2 separate regions of the Homo sapiens genome follow, and region 2 is linked to region 1. Evidence: promoter capture Hi-C in human tissues and cell types (Jung and others, 2019). All regions are on one chromosome and are shown on one strand. Each heading gives the region's core, a stretch centred on a gene start or on the middle of the fragment in contact. The rest is flanking DNA. Distances are from core to core; before and after follow the strand shown. Region 1 holds the start of TOMM5 (translocase of outer mitochondrial membrane 5). Region 2 overlaps PAX5 (paired box 5).

What was found. The method cuts DNA at HindIII sites, captures the fragments that hold promoters and counts their contacts. A contact is called where the count stands out against the background at its distance.
Region 2: a contact is called between a fragment that was not itself captured here and the fragment with the promoter of TOMM5 in region 1, in 1 of the 25 tissues and cell types used here (mesenchymal stem cells).

Annotation. Positions count from the first base shown.
Region 1 is chr9:37,591,298-37,593,997 of GRCh38, reverse strand. It overlaps TOMM5 (translocase of outer mitochondrial membrane 5), which reads left to right and starts at 1,401. Exons shown (of 2, transcript NM_001001790.3): 1 at 1,401-1,586. The coding sequence starts at 1,466. RefSeq lists a silencer at 1-86 and an enhancer at 1,045-1,804. The HindIII fragment of the contact is 28,692 bases long and covers 1-2,700 here.
Region 2 is chr9:37,021,150-37,023,849 of GRCh38, reverse strand. All of the region lies in intron 1 of PAX5 (paired box 5), which reads left to right. Among named protein-coding and RNA genes, the nearest start is that of PAX5, 12 kb to the left of the region's middle. RefSeq lists a silencer at 1,013-1,062. The HindIII fragment of the contact is 4,288 bases long and covers 1-2,700 here.

The sequences.
Region 1 (2,700 bases), core at 152-2,651:
CACTTTAGACTTCAGCTGCGATGTTCCAGATAAAGGGCTTCACACCAAAGCTGGACTTGGTTTCTGAGCCTCTTTCTATTCATCTGTAAAATGCTGATCAGATTTGAACTTGCTTTATACATATTGTGTTACTTGGCTAACAGTATTTTAAAGACCTCTGTGCTTCAATAATCTGTAAAAAGGCCAGGTGCGGTGGCTCATGCCTGTAATCACGGCACTTTTGGGGGCCGAGGTGGGCAGATCACCTGAGATCAGGAGTTTCCAAGACCAGCCTGGCCAACATGGTGAAACCGCGTCTCTACAAAAAATACAAAATTTAGCCAGGCGTGGTGCTGCGCAACCGTAATCCCAGCTACTCAGGAGGCTGAGGCAGGAGAATCACTTGAACCTGGGAAGCAGCGGTTGCAGTGAGCTGAAATTGCGCCACTGCACTCCAGCCTGGGCGGCAGAGCGAGACTCTGTCTCCAAAAAAAAAAAAAAAAAAAAAAAAGTTTCATCTTTGTCTCTTTGTTTTAACTTATGTAAAGTTTCAAACATACTCAAGAAAGACTAGAATAATTAACTAAAATGAAGTACTAGTCACCAGCAGTTTTTAATATTTTGCTGACATCACTTATCTCTCTCAATACTTTTTTCCCCCTCTGAGGTATTTTTAAGCACATTTGGGGGCCAGGCGCGATAGCTCACGCCTGTAATCCCAGCACTTTGGGAGGCCGAGGCGGGAGGATCGCTTGGATCCTGGAACCCAGGAGTTCCAGAACAGTCTCAACCACCACAATTAGCAATAAAAAAATAAATAAAAATTAAAGCACATTTGGGCAAGATGTTTTAAAGATCTCTGTGCTTCAATTGTCTAATCTAGGAAACGAAGATTATAATATCGAATTCACGGGGGACAATTATATTGAATATTCAATAAATGTTAGTTATCACTGTTTACAGTGGTACCTATGTGCACAGCCCCCTCCAGCGCGTAAAAGCACTTTACAGCGCAGCGCTCCAGGCTCAAGATAGATGTTATTGTTGTTGTTATTATTATTATTATTATTATTATTTTGAGACGGAGTCTCGCTCGCTCTGTCGCCCAGGCTGGAGCGCAGTGGCGCGATCTCGGCTAACTGCAACATCCCCCTCCTGGGTTCAAGCGATTTTCCTGCCTCAGCCTCCCGAGTAGCTGGGATTGTAAGCACGCGCCACCGAGCCGGGCTGATTTTTGTATGACAGATGTTATTAAAGACAGCGTGGAGAAACCAGAGCCTGCGTTGCTGAGCTTGCGGCCGCCCGCTTCACACCGCACTTCAGATCAGCTGGGTCAGGACGTGGATTGTCCCGTGCAGGCATCCATCGTCGAGTGTGGCAACGAGAGGGCGGGAACAGGAAGTGAGGATAGGCCGAGTTCCGGGCGCGAGGCGGCCACCGTGGAGAGCAGAGCGCGGCGGCTGGAAGCTGCTAAGTCAGAGCCGCGATGTTCCGGATTGAGGGCCTCGCGCCGAAGCTGGACCCGGAGGAGATGAAACGGAAGATGCGCGAGGATGTGATCTCCTCCATACGGAACTTTCTCATCTACGTGGCCCTCCTGCGAGTCAGTGAGTGTCTCCCGGGCTGTGACTGTGAGACCAGCGGGGAGCTCACCGACGGGCACCCCTTAACTCTAAGGGGTCATCGGGGCCTTCGAACTGAGCTGAACGGTAGCGGGGAGCAAGGAGGGTGCGCGTTGAAGGCGACGGGCATATGCGCGGTTTGAGGTCTGCGGGTCAGGGTCCGGGCACTGAAGTGCACGTGGTGGCCGGCGCGCGTGTTTAATCATCCTGGTTCTCCCAGCTTGAAGAATGTTTGAGCTGCCGGGCGCGTTGGCTCACACCTGTAATCCCACCCAGCACTTTGTGAAGCCGAGGCGGGCGGATCATTTGGGGTCAGGAGTTCGTGGTGGCGGGCGCCTGTAATCCCAGCTCCTCGGGAGGCTAAGGTGGGAGGATTGCTTGAATCCAGGAGGCGGAGGTTGCAGTGAGCCGAGATCGCGACACTGCACTCCAGCTTGAGTGACAGAGCAAGACTCCATCTCAAAAAAAAGAATGTTTGAGCTGAAAGAGCTCAAGTAATTATCCCTAGAGGAACTCCCTCGTTTTTGCAGACAGAGAAACAGAGAAACAGAACCATAGTTCTAGAAGGAAGAAACAGCCTTCTTGGGAAGGCTGGCCAAAGGTCACTCAGCGATTCAGTGAATGATCTTGACCTAAAATCCAGAACTCTTAACTCAGTACCAGGTTCCTTCCCTTTCTTTTCTTTTCTTTTTTTTTTTTTTCCTCGATACACAGTCACGCCCTGTTGCCCAGGCTGGAGTGCAGTGGCGCAGTCTTGGCTCACTGCAACCTCTGCCTCCCGAGTTCAAGCCATTCTCCCACCTCAGCCTCCCAAGTAGCTGAGATTACAGGCGCGCGCCACCACGCCCGGCTAATTTTTGTATTTTTAGTAGAGATGGGTGTTTAACCATGTTGGCCAGGCCGGTCTCGAACTCCTGACCTCAGGTGATCCACCTGCCTCAGCCTCCCAAAGTGCTGGGATTACAGGCGTGAACCAGCGGCCGGGTTCCTTCCCTTTCAAAAGTGCTGACCTTTGAAATCCAAAAAGTTTTGCTTCATTTCTGTTTCTTTGTATAGAGGGTGAAGTGAGTCATTAGTTTTTTGGAAAAAAATGGGAAAA
Region 2 (2,700 bases), core at 105-2,604, 570 kb after region 1:
TCCCTGCCCTTTCCCTGTGCCCCTGTTTGCCTGTCTGTGTACCCCTTCATTCTTTCTGGTGCATCTAGGAAAAATTTTAATGATCTTGTGGGGGTCCTGGAGCTCAATCTGTGGCTGAGTCAGCAAAGTCCCTTTCCCCAAAATCCTATGCTCAGCCATGGTCTTTGGGGGTATTGGGAGGGCCTGTGGTGGGTAGCATGACCTTATCAGGGCCTGAGGAGCATCTGTGGAGGCCAGCCCTTTCCATACCAGAGTCACAAAGGCCTCAGGGGCCTCTGCAATTCAGTCTTTCTCTCCTCACTCCCCTCCAAACACTGCCCAGTCTGCCCTGTCCTGTGGTCTGTCTTTTTCTTGTATCTGTGGGTCTGTTTCCTGGTCTTCACCTGATTTGTTTGCCTCTGTCTCTGTGTCAGTCCCCCTTTCACGGGATGAGTCCTCACCTAACTGGAGTCCATAGGAAGTACAGGCTGGGACTTGGGTTCTCCAAGAAGATGCAGGGCCAGAGCTGGCACCCCAGAAAACAAAGGTCCTCTGTCTAGAGAAGTCCCCTGTCCTCCAGAAGCCCCTTCCTGGGCTTCCTCCATTTTCTCTTCTTATTGCCTCCCGTTGTGTGCCACCTTCGTCTTTCTTTTCTTGGCCTATTCTAGCTTCTCCATTCCTTTTCCCTCTCCTCTGCCTGCCTAACCTGCTGCTTCCTTTCCAGGCTCTCTCTCTCCTGGTTGTCTGTCTCATTCAGTTCCCACTCTTTACACTTCTCTTAACACACCTCTTTTTTCCTCTTTTCTTTCCCTGTCCTGCCTCGCCTCATTCAGACTTTGGACTTCACTTCTTACCAATTCCAGAGTAAGTGACCTTCCTCACACCATAGTTGTAAACCTTCTCACCACCACCCTCTAAGAGCTCTATTGGGTAGGATTGTGATGGTGGAGAAGGCCAAGGGGTCTTGGGGACCTTTCAAGGAAGTTGAGGAAGGTAACAGGCTCCCAGGTCACCCCAAGTCTGTTGTCAGCTGTGGACCTATAGATGAGATTGTGAAAGAGCATTACTATCTCAGCCTATGTGGTCAAGGGTAGAGGGTTTGGGGACCTGCTCTCACCTTGAGAGACCTGGCTCTAGGAGACCTTTAGGGTTTTCCCATGATACAAAACAGCCCCCAGTGCTCATAAATGTCCTGCAGGACTGCTTTTGGAATTTAAGTCCTCTGAAGGTTGCCACTGTGTTTTGGGCAGAAAGTCTCAATTGTCAGTGACATAGAGAACAGGCTATTGCAGATGGACCATAATACCTGGACTCCCAGGTCATATCAAAAGTGTGCTGGGTGTTTAAGCTTCCTTTGCCTGCCCTTTGTTTTCCCAGATGAGCTTATACCAATTTTGAATTTATTTTCTTTTACTTAAATCCAGCCTGCTCTTGAAAGATCTGTACAACCTTTTTAAATAGGTGTTCCCAGCCCCAGAACAAAGCCTTCTGAAGGCTCTTGGCCAGGGTGGCTGCAGTCTTTCTGTTTTAGAAAAACTATGCAATTATGTTTCTAACTGCAAAATCCTATTTGGAATGGTTTTCCTTTTTCTTATGTCTTTTAGAACAATCAAAACTGAATAAAGATCATTTTGAAAATCAGAAATCCAGCTTAGAACTGCAACTAAGTACTTCAGTTATCTATAAAATTGTGTTTTTCCTTGAAATAAGCCTGAGCCTGGACGTTTTTGGGAAATATTCATGGGAAACTTGAGTGGATTGCTTGGACAGTTTTTAGGAAATACATTATATTATGGGGGTTTTTGCTCCCTTTATTTCAGATGAGGTTCATGAACCTGGGTTGTAGTTTAGTACTGGGGAGAAATAGCTGAGATGAGGTGGCTATTTCATATTTTAGAGTTGAGTATATATGTGTGTGAGACCTTTGAGGTCTTTCCCTTGTACGGTCCAGTCCTAGTCCAGTCTTGGTTCAGGAGGAGTTTCCCCTTCCTTTGCCTCTGAGCTGCCAGCAACATCAATAAATGCTTTGACTTGGCTTTGGGCTCCAGTCTTCAGCAACGTCAGTGAGTGACTAATTAACAGCTATAAGGTCAATGATGTTGCTGCATCGGATCACTCTGTGTTTACTGGTTTGGCTCTTCATTTACTTGAGTCCTTGTGTCCTTCCAGATGGACCTTGATGTAAGAGAAGGGTGGAGGAGGCACTTTCTCGGGCTCCTTTTACTTAAAATCTATCCCAGGACCCTTGTAAAACCTGGGATCCAGAGGCTTTTGTAGGTTTCTTTATTTTCCCTGGACCAAAATAAAGCTATATGTCAATTGCAAAACATTGTAAAAATTCCAGGGAAACTCCTTTATAACAAATCCCCGTGCAGTGGAGTGGAATGTGCTGTGTGTAGAAGATGCTATGACCCATTTCTTTTGTGTGCTTTGAGAAGGTACAGTGGTCAAGTCTGCATGTCAACCTCACCTTCTTAAAGGGAGGGTTTTAAACAAGGCAATGGTTGTTTTTTTTTCTCAGTACTCTGCAGGTGCTGTTAAATTTTTAAAAAATTCCTTAGCCCTTGAATTAGATTGCTGATTAAAAACAAAATTCCCTGAGATATAAGTTTATTGGAGTTGTTCTTTTCACTTTTAAAGACATTTGTTAAAAGGAAACGAGTTTTATTTTTTTCCTCTTTAAATATGATGTATTTTAATGCATATTTTCTCCCCAGGATC